Regions from separate parts of the Homo sapiens genome. Here region 2 is linked to region 1. Evidence: promoter capture Hi-C in human tissues and cell types (Jung and others, 2019). All regions are on one chromosome and are shown on one strand. Each heading gives the region's core, a stretch centred on a gene start or on the middle of the fragment in contact. The rest is flanking DNA. Distances are from core to core; before and after follow the strand shown.

Region 1 (5,703 bases), core at 1,421-3,920:
CGGAAAAACAGTGAGACCAGATGAGTTCAGAGTTTTTCTCTTCACTTTTTCATATCTATCTATCTATTCTCATGACACATGTAATACAGGCTCAGAGAGAATGGATGTATAAGTTACATTTATAATTTTTAAAAACTAATATGAAGAAAATAAAGGTAAGCAAAATGAATAGACTAAAAACCACCCAGTAATCCTAACACTCACAGATAACCAGTGTGTATTTTCAGGCATATATCCTTAGAGACTTCCCCAATTTTTTACTAGCTTTAAGTTTCTGGGATTCTAGAAGGCTGAGCCTTGAGCTCTTCACGTATTTCTTAAATTGTTATAGCTCCACGTGCCTTCTAAAATGCATCTTTGCCATATTTTCGTTTATTAAAAAGACGCTAATTCTTGCCTCAAATAGTATGACCTCTATCTTCTCTGGAGATGTTAATTTTTCTGGTTTATTATTAGGATTCAACACCTGTATTTTCAAATCAGTTGAAAAACAGACACACACACCCCTCCACACACAAACGAACACAGAATACTTCTTTTAATGTCTTCATTAAGCAGTCTAATTGCAGTGACCCCCAAGGCAGCTCTATTTTGGCCTTTATTCTGTTCAACTGGAATTGAACTCTGTGTGCCTTTTTGTCCAAGCTTCTGGGGACAATGCCCATTTGTTGTTTGGCTGGCACAGTTTCATCTGTTGTGGAGGGGTAGGTACATCTTTAGTGCTGGTCAAATAATTATAATAAAGAGTTTGGTTGGTCTTATGTTTGGTTAGAAAATGTGATCTAACATCAGCTGACAATCACAATAGATACAAACAGCACACATAGACTTTCTTTTCACAATGGGCTTCTCAGCTAATATCTCAGACAATATTGTGAATATTATGGTCATACAAACAGTTCTGACTAATATCCAATGTGAATTTTAAACTTAGCAATCCACTAAACAAAGCAAAAGCTGGAATTTTCTGCTTTTAGATCAGTATGTGGACTAATGGAAAAAAAGTCACACAACTTCATATAACTTATCTTACATGCGATAACTCATCATACATGCCTAGATATTATTATATTTAAAATATCTGGGTTGGTTTTATAAACTTATATTTATTAAAAACTATACTGTGCTTGGTACTGGCCTAGATTCATAGCAGGCAGTCAATCAATACTTGTAAACCAATGGATTTGACTGAGAAGATAAGTAATATCGCAGCAAATACGTTTCTTGCACCTCTCGCCATAATTGAGTAAATGATTTAACTATATAAAAACATAAAAGATGCTTACCTGCTTTTCCTCAGAACTTCCAGAATCAGCCTGTTTAACCTTAGAAACAGAAAAGATGAAGAAAGATTACAAGAATGTCCTCCTAGCACATGGAAGCACACAATTCAGTTATTTTCAGGAATTTTCTTTAAGATGCAACTGTACTCACTGGTATGGCACAGGTGATGCCTAGGAGGCAAAAGCAAATCACTGCAATTCTCATGGTAGTGAGTTTTCCTGCAAAATATTTCATAAGGAATAGCTGACATCTTCATAGGTTACAACAGTGATACCTTTTTATACTACCACATTACAAAATGATCACAAATAAAATATATTTTCTATAGAATCTTTTCTACTTCTTAGAGATGCCTTTTCTTTTTAGTATTATAGTCTTTCAAGTTAATATTTATATTGCCACCTATTATCCATCTTTCACTATTAGGCAAGGGAAAGGGAAATTTTGCAAGTCTGTATTTATTCAACTTTAAAATTTAGAGTTCCAGAAATTATACCATTACTACCTTATATATCTAGCTCTCTAAACCTACAAACAGATCAACAGTAACTTAATTATATTAATAAGCTAGTATGGGAATATTTTTTAGAGAAGAAAAAACTCACAGAAAAAAATGAAAAAAATTTGCTTTATCCATTTTTCCAACATGTACTTTAAATGTGACTTTTAGCTTAATTATCAAGTAGGTGCTACTTAGGTGAAATCAAACTATCTCTGAAATTTGTTATTTAAGTAAGATGTTCTAAAAATTTGAAATTCAAAGGAAAACATTGAAAATAGCCAACAGCTTTTCTATTTGTAATAATAAGCCTACACAGTGTCATACAGGTATCTTGGTGAATATTTTAACAGCTAAATTTAGCAGTGGCATATTCAGAAAGGGTTTTCTTCCCCTTAAAAGTGAGATACATCATTTAAAAAATAGCATTGTAATTGGTTTAATTAGCATAAAAGATCCCTTTTCTTTTAAATTCCTGCACAGTCACCCACTGAAAATTATATAGGTATAATTATTCCAAAGGGGAATTTAATTTTACTATTTTCTGATTAGCATCGGTGGTTTCCGTTCTTTTGAGGACCCAGTGGAAGTATTTTTAAGTTTTAAATTTGATTGGCATTCAAAATATCTAGACACCTTTGTTCCAGGAGACCTGCAATGTATCTAATCTGCTTATTAAAAAGGCTAGAAAATTTAAGTCTGTTTAACAGCATTACAATTAAAAATATTTTTCCTTAGAATTTGGACTTCCCCATGAAATTCAGCTGAATGCACAACCCAGTAGCAAACTGAAGCTGTACCTTGGTCGGCGTTTGGCTGAGAAGGCTGCAACTGGCCTGAGACGAGTCTGGTCCCGACGATGCTGTGCTCTGCCTCCTCCTGCTGCTGCTGACAACCAAGCCCTCCCAGAATTTAAATGCTGCTGCAGACATCCTCCACCAACACAGGGAGGCGGAGAGATTGTGTCATGAGGTTTTCTGCCACTGCCCAGCCCACCTGCTCCCACACTTCCCCCTCTGGTTTTGTGGTTAAAACAAAAAAAAACAAAAACGCACACACACAATCTACAGTTAAAACATTACTTATGTACAATATCATTAACTAGCTTTTTCATTTACGGGATGGGCATTCAGCATCCAGGAAGAGCACTTAGGGATCCCATGAAAAAGGGAGAAAGTAGGGAAAAACATTAATGTAAAATTAAATAGAATGGATTTTTGTTTCTTTCGGTTTAAGTAACATAAAGGTAATATCTGCAACCACTCTTGCCTGTATGATTGTACTTATTGAAGAGCCAGAAGGCTATTGTTCAAGCCTGCAAGGAGTTCAGAAAACTTGCCTCTGTCCTTTACTACTCAAGCTTAGCTTTGTGATTTCGAGTATGCAGTAGCTTGTTACTTAGACAAATGGCACTAGTGACATTAAAATATAAAATTCTATATGAAATAGAAGAATGGTAATTTATTCTAGATGTTGCAGAAGTAAAGCAGTTTCTGACTGAGAGCAGGATGACTGCTTGAGAGGGCTGCTTCAGGAGCCAGACCGTGGTTCTGAATTCCGCTGTGTCACTGCTGACCTGTGCAACCTTGGGCAAATCGCCCAGCCTACCTATCCTTGTTCCCTCATCCATGAAATGCAATACTATTACCTAGGTCATGGGGTTTTTGAGGGGTTTAAATGAATTAGTATGTTAAACTAGCAATGCTTAGCACATATTAGATGCAAATGCTCTGCGTATCTTAAGGACTATATGTGTGTTAACTATTATGAAATTTTTAAGAGGGGCAGGCAGTCACGAATTGTAATGTCCTTTAAAAGAACAGGTTATTAAAATGAGAGTAGACGTAAGATCTTTAAATTGTATGCATCAATAAGGAAATTTTGCACATTTCTAAAGGAACAGATTCGATTTTGGAATCATCTTTTTTTCTAGTTTTTCTCCCAAGGTATGTAAAGTAGGCCACTTAAAAAGAAAAACATTTTTAAAAATTTCTGTATTAAAAAACACTTTACTAGGTATTTAAAAGGTGTCTGAATGAAAGAAAATTACAGGGAAAGTCCGAATATTAGAGCAGAATTCAGGGATAGCAGAGCTCTGGGTCCTTTTAAAATATTTAATATTGCCTTGAGATTACTTATCTTCATTTGCTTTCTCAGTTGTGAAATGCAGATTGCACTATTTATTTACCTTACACCTTTATTGTTAAGACTTGTGTGTAATTGAGATGAAAAATAAATGGTCCTATTTATTATTAGGTTGCTGCAAAAGTAATTGTGGTTTTTATTAGTCCTAAAGTGTCAGCTTCCTTTTGCCAAATATTACTTTTAATATAAATATAGATTAAATAATGTCTTGCAGTGATAGTGTATAGCTAATTCATAGGTTTCATGAACATTTGGTAGGGGGAAATATGTCTCCCTTAAATTGGATGTATTCCAGATGAATTGATATGATTGGTTTGTAGGTAATAAGCACCCATTTTAATAAGTAAGATGACGACTATCTCTATAAAATAGAAAGCACACAGATTATAAAGTTGCAAAATAGACTTCTTTTTTCTGCTTCTAAAAACTATTTTTTTCCTTTAAACATACCCGCATAAGCGTGTCATGTTGTCAATTTAGTGGAGGGAAGTCTGAAAATTCTAAAAACAACAAAATTTCCACAGGATTTACTGTAGTTTACTCTGTGCCCACGGGAATGATTCAATATGAAGCTAGAATTAATTATAGGAATAGATTATGCTGGAGCCCAGCCATCTTGAGATGAACCATACGACCCTTTACAGGACTCTTCTGGTCATAGCTCCGCAGTGCCACACGATGGCAGCATTTCTGAAAAAAGATTTCAGACCACAATCTGGTTCTACCAATTTTCTTAATTCCAGCGGGATAGAACACTCCTGTATTTAATGACAGGACTATATACAGCTGTGGAGCTCTCCATTTCTTGGAATGCCAGGTGAGGAAATATTTCCCAACAATGACCCGCTATGCAATCAGGGACAGAGACCCAGAGAACCAAAGCGTTCTTGTTTTGCTCTGTTGTTGCCTTAGGCAATCCCAAGTTGACACTATTGTCTCCTTCCCGACTTCTACACTCATTCAAAAAGTTCCTAGTCCCAAGGCCTCTCTCAGAGAAAAGGCTTGTGAATTCACGGGTAAAGAATGTGTCTGGGATGCTTTGGAGTTGAGAAGATAAAGTGATTTATAATGGGAGGCAATTCTGTAAAGTAGGAAATGGATGCTGCGTCATTCTGACTATCGGGGAGGTCATGTTTTGGGATGTTTCTTGCTGTTTGCACTCAAACATGCTGCTGCTGGTTGTTTTTTCTGAGTAGGATTTTCTGTCAGAATTAACATGTTAAATGATTTAAATCACAGTGGCTCTATCTGTAATATTTCCAAAGTTTCCATTCTTGATTGGCTAATGATTGGTTGTTAGAATCAAAAGGTCAAAATGCACAAATTCCCTATAAATCTTGTGAGTGGAAAGTAAAAAAAGTTTAGTTGTCAAACTAGAATGCAAAGAGTAATTTGTGATCTTAAATTATACACACTAAGAGGACACATGGAAACAAATAAAGAGCCTTAAGGTCTTTTTCCTGAATTACATGAAAATTCCCATATAATAAAAAGTAAGTGTTCAATGTCACTACTTTGGTGGACAACTTTATTAAACTCACTTCCAGTTTATTTGAACATTTCTAATTATATTTTACTTAGTAAAGTGTAACCAACTATTTCAGTGTTTTCAGCTCCACAGGTAATTATTTTTTTCCCTTGAGTCAAGGTTCAGACATGACTCTGATATTTTGGTAACACCACTAATCTGTCATAAAGAAGTTTGGAATTAAAGCTAATCGGAAGCCTAGCACCATTCATCATATATAGACTGGGAAAAGGGGCATTATTTATCA
Region 2 (5,703 bases), core at 877-3,376, 420 kb after region 1:
TGGCCATATGTTTTATCTCTTCTGTGAGCTTCCTATTCATGGCTTTTGTCCATTTTTAAATCACTGGTATGGCCATTCTTTATTAGCTTACAGATGTCCTTTAGGTCCTTTAGATATTATTGCTATCAATTCTTTGCCAGGGTGTCATGAATATTTTGTCTCAGTTTATTTTTCCACTTTCTTCAAAATATCTTTTAATATTCAGACATTTTCAGTTTTAATATATTAAATTTATTGTCAGAGACATCTGCTGTCATAGAAGTTTAAGGGATAGCCTTGAAGGGTGGTGGTAAGAGAAATTTTCCACATGATTAGAGCTTCAAGCTGGGTACCTGATCATCCACTTTGTACAAAAAAGGAAGTGATCCAAGATTAAAATATACATGGACTTATGGACAGTGGCCAACGCATGGCCTGCTGGTCAGGGACTGTACTAGTTTCACTGAGCTGCCATGGAAATGACCACAAATTGAGCAGCTTCAGTTTACTCCCTCTTGGCTGGGTACAGTGATTCACTCCTATAATTCCAGAGCTTTGGGAGGCCAAGGCAGGAGGATCTCTTGAGGCCAGGAGTTCAAGATCAGCCTGGGCAATGTAGCAAGACTCTGTCTCTACAAAAAAAATAAAAATAATTTACTCCCTCATGGTTTAGGAGGCCAGAAGTCTGAAATCAAGTTGTCAGCAGGGTTGGTTTTTCTGGAGGCTCCAAGGAAGAAAGCATCCCGGGCCTCTCTCCTAGCTTCTGGTGATTGCTGGCAATTCTTGGTGTTCCTTGACTTGCAGACTCATCATTCCAATTTCTGCCACTGTTGTCATATCACCTTCTTCCCTATGGAGCTCTCTTGTGCTCTCCTCTTCTTATAAAAACACAAGTCAAGATATGTTCAGGACGATTCCAAGATGTTTCATCTCAAGATTTTTAACCAATTGCATCTGCAAAGACACTATTTTCAAATAAGGTCACATTCTGAGGTTTGAGGTGGACATGAATTTTGGGGGGACACTGTTCAACCCACCACAGGGGCTTAAAAAAGGAAAAGATTGGAAAATCTAGAAAAAGGAGATGTTGGAAATAGACATGCAGTTGGACATTAAAGAACAAGCATGAAGAATGAAGAGTTTCATGAGACATGTTAACACCCACCAAAGAGTGCCAACATGGAAGGAACACCAAACAGCCAGTCATAGACAAAATGACTCAGCCAACTCACATCAGTCAGCCTCTGTCATCAGCAACCCCAATCAGATGGCCAAGTGGATGAAGTAACCATCATGGCAGGGAGAGAGGCTATGCATATGTCCAACCTAGGTTCCCATTCATCAAGGTTGATTTAGCTGCTACTCCTGCCAAACGTACAACCTGCGAGCAAGAGAGACTAGTGCTGAGTGCTCCATACAGCATCACACTCTTTGGCCTCTTGTTTTCCTCATTCGACAATAATTTATGGAAATTCCTGCAAATTATTTGGATGCCCTCTAATTCATTATTTTTAATGGCCACATAATAGTCCATGGCATTCCAAAGCTTTTCCTACAACGGCCTCCTTTCATGTTATGACATCCTGTCAACTTCCTCTGATGGTAGGAAAATGGAACAAGTTGCCAAGAGCAATTGACTATGAGGATACCTGAGAAGATCCTGTCTGACTTGTCTTCTGCCAGTAACATACTTCCTCTCCTCCTGCTCTCATTTCACATCATACAGCAAAAGTTAACAGTTCAGAGCTGAATTTCTACAACTGATAAATTTAATTCTGGGAATTGAGTTATAACGTTAAAATCTATTTCTGGCTACAAGCTAATAAAGCTACTGTTCTCTCAAATAAATGATAAAAACAGAGAAACTCTTTTAAGGACTTTCCAGGAGACTTAGCAGAAAGCTAATAATATTTAAAAAGCTGCAAATACATTCTCAGAGTCACTGTAAATAGAAGAAAGTCAACAGCAAGTATCTAAAACTCTGGTGCAAAATTTCATGTAGCCAGGCGTGGTGGCTCATGCCTCTAATCTCAGCACTTAGGCTGAGGCAGGCAGATCGCCTGAGGTCAGGAGTTCGAGATTAGCCTGGCCAACATGGTGAAACCCCATCTCTACTAAAAATACAAAAATTAGCCGGGCATAGTGGCAGGCGCCTGTAATTCCAGCTACTCACGAGGCTGAGGCAGGAGAATCACTTGAACCGGGGAGGTGGAGGTTGCAGTGAGCCGAGATTGTGCCATTGCACTCCAGCCTGGGTGACAAGAGCAAAACTCTGTCTCAAAAAAAAAAAAAAAAAAGAGAAAGAAAAAGAAAAAGAAGAAAGAAAAGATAAAAGAAAAGTTCATGTAGGTCCTTTTGAGGATCATCATATATCCACACATTTTTCTTAATAATGAGCTAAAATTGATCTAGAAAGGGGTAATGGAAATGGCAAAAGAGAACCTGTCTACCTTCCAATTGTCCTCAGAAAAGCAGCAGCTGCCGTGGGATGCCCTTATATGGCATTTGTTTCCTGTTGTCCCTTGAGTGAAGTCTGCAGGGACACACTAGGGCAACTGGTACTTGCCATTTCCTGGAAGACAACCACAGAGCCGACTCTATAATTACCCGGAGGCCCTGCCTAGGTACCACAGTAGTAATCAGGCATCGGTCACCGGAAGGAGAGACGAATTGGGGCTCTGGATAGATATGCTGAACACAGACAGTGAACCATCCAAACCCCATTTGTACAGAGCCTATCAAGAAAGCTTTGCCTCCACAGATGCTACACAAAACATTGTGTACATGCTACACAAGGCAATGGACAACCACCACAAACTGCTCTGCAGTTCAAAATATCTGAATGAGAGCAAAATTTTATGAATGCAAATAAATAGTGCTGGAGTATCTAGAGATGCAGTTTGCTTTGGCAACAAATCCTGTGTCTTGTCTATCTGGATCTCAGATCAAAAAATCATGACGCCACCAGCTAACTGCCAGTTTTAAGTGACTGCTAGGATGAGTCCTCTAACAATTTCATTTCTCTGCAATGCAGCAAACAGTATATTAGCTAGGGTTAAATCAGCATCTGTGATTTCATAACAAACCAACGAATTCTAATACCATGTCTAAATTATGTGGCTATTTGTAATCACTTCCCTTGGAAGGTATAACCTTGATTGTAACAAATAATGTATCAGATCACCTTCTAAAATACAACTCCTTTTCTTGATTAAAAACTAAATGATTTCACATGATTTGATTTTTATTGTCTCAAGAAATTTCCACAATCTTTTAAGAAGTGGTTTTCAAACTTTATCCCGGGAAATCTTTCTTCAGAAGAAATATTCCCAGAGGGACAGACATATAAAAGCAGAACTCTTTTAATTTGCAGTTTGGCATTTTCCCTCCTATTGCATTGCTCCCTTGTAAAGAAAGAAAGAAATCTGTCATGGCTTATGTGTTAATGTAGTCATTATTTTTAATTTATTGAAATAATTATAAACTCAAGAAAAATTGCAAAAAATAGTACAGAAAGGTCCTGCGGGCCCTTCCCCCAGTTTCCCCCAAAGGTAACATCTTACTTAAGTATAATGCATTATCAAAACCAGGAATACTACTAACTAGACTATAGACTACTAAAATTCCATTGGTTTTCACATGCAGTCATTGTTTTGCATAGTTCTATGAAATGTTATCTCACGTATAGATTCCATCACCACAAAGGAGCTCTGTTGTGATACCCCTTTATAGCCGCACCCGCTCTCCATCCTCATCCTTAATCCTTGGCAACCACTGATCTGTCTCCATTACCTGATCTTTAAAAATGTTACCATTTCAAGAATGTGATATACGTGGAATCATATCTTATGTAACCCATTGAGACTGGCATTTTTCACTTAGCATAATACCCTTAAGATCTATCCAAGCTGACGTGCTATATGAATACTTCACCCCTTTATATTTCAGCATAGAATTCCATTGTATAGATTTACCTCAGTTTCTTTATCCATCCACCTTTTGAAGGACACTTGGGTTGTTTCCACCTAGAGTTATTGCAAATAAAGCCGCAGAAAATATTTGTGTACAGGTTTTTGTGTGAACATAAGTTTTCATTTCTCTAGGATAAATGCCCAAGATTGCATATGCTAGAATGTATGGTAAGTAATGTTTAATTTTATATGAAACTGCCAAACTCTTTTCCAGAGTAGATGCCCCAATTTATGAGAGATCTCAGTATGAGAGATCTAAGTATCTCTGCATTCTCAACAGCATTTAATATTATCAATATTTTTTCCCATGCTACTATGTATGTAGAGGAGAAATCGTTTATTTTTAAGAGCATTACCTTTCCTTTCTTTGCATGCCCAATTTAAAATTGAGAACTATTTAAATTAAAATAGTGCTTCCTAAACATAAAGTTAGTATAAGGTAAATGTGATAATTTGAACTCAGGAATGGCTATTTCAAACTGACTCTCAGTGAATGGCTTACACTGAGGTCAATGATCTGCTCCCAGCTTTGGGGACTAGGAGCTATTTTATTCATTGACCTAGAGATAGAAGAATATACAGGCATTGAGCCATGCCAAACTCCCAAGAGATGTATCTACAAGCTAGCATATCAAGTATAACTATATCTGACAAAGCTTGCCCAGGGGAAGGGTACTCATTTCCTCTGGCTTGGTGGATCACCCAAGAGCACAAACCTCAGAGCAAATATTTGCAGAAGGAAAGTACAGGACGTGGGATGTTCTTACAGGCATATTTATGAAGCTAAGCCGGCTGGATAGAAAGCTCCCTTCATTTTAGGTATTCCCTAATGAATCACAATCACAGTCTATGAAGCAAAATCATTCTTTGGCCATTGACCATGCTACAGAAAAAGACCCACTATTAATCCCCTTTCTATAAAAGGGTTACTTACCTTCTTCTAAAGGTAACATTGCAACATGAGCCTTCTTCTTTCAAGTTCCATTAACATGCTAATTCCCAAGTGTATTAATTTTCATTGATTATATTTTAAAATGCTGACTTCCTAGAGATGCTGTGGACCAACTCTCACAGAGCAGAAAACTACCTCTAAATTATAGGATAATTCTAAACTGGTAAATAACCAATTGCAACCTTAGATTGAATTTTTTTAAAGCTTGTTTTGAAATGTGAAAGCAATACATGTCCCGAGTAAATCAGACTTAGGAGTCCTCAGCATGTGATTGCACTGACCACAGAGGTAGTTTTTACTCTAAATTTTAGGGTCTATAATACTTTGATGTCTACACCACTCTATCCATGGACAGAGTATTTTAAAACCCTAAGTACAGGCTATGTAGATGATCACATTGCTACTTGTTAGAGTTCTAATCATACAAAATAGCATTTAACCAAAAACCCAAAAGAGTTTTGGTAATTGATAACATTGCAAATATAACTGTGCATCACCACTGATCACTAGAGCTAGACCTTCATTATGGGACAAAGAACTACGAGAAAAAGATTTGGAAAATACTTGGAAACTCAAAACTTAATATGGTTTCTTGAATTTTAATTGGTCTACTTCAAAGGCTAATGTATTTCCTTTCTGAAAATGTCTGCATTACATTCAAACTATTTGAAATTGTCTTTCTTTATTATTGTGGTTGAGTAGAATGCCGGTTTTATTGAGTTAATTTGTCTGTATTTGTTATAGATTAAGCTAAGATATCTCAAAATTCAGTGGCTAATACAAAGTAGAAGTTTATTGCTC

Evidence for each region. Contacts are between HindIII fragments. The study calls those that stand out against the background at their distance.
Region 2: a contact is called between a fragment that was not itself captured here and the fragment with the promoter of SPP1 in region 1, in 1 of the 25 tissues and cell types used here (heart left ventricle).

The regions. Positions count from the first base shown.
Region 1 is chr4:87,972,681-87,978,383 of GRCh38, reverse strand. It overlaps SPP1 (secreted phosphoprotein 1), which reads right to left and starts at 2,670. Exons shown (of 7, transcript NM_001040058.2): 1 at 2,584-2,670; 2 at 1,435-1,502; 3 at 1,287-1,325. The coding sequence starts at 1,488. LOC124900730 (a long non-coding RNA gene) reads left to right here and starts at 4,615. Exons shown (of 2, transcript XR_007058172.1): 1 at 4,615-4,745. RefSeq lists cis regulatory regions at 2,675-2,684, 2,719-2,728, 2,903-2,918, 3,356-3,364, 3,431-3,439 and 1 more, enhancers at 2,697-2,767, 2,530-3,029, 3,392-3,412 and promoters at 2,584-2,797, 2,587-3,674, 2,674-4,916. The HindIII fragment of the contact is 7,576 bases long and covers 1-5,544 here.
Region 2 is chr4:87,556,509-87,562,211 of GRCh38, reverse strand. No RefSeq gene overlaps it. Among named protein-coding and RNA genes, the nearest start is that of SPARCL1, 30 kb to the right of the region's middle. The HindIII fragment of the contact is 3,080 bases long and covers 587-3,666 here.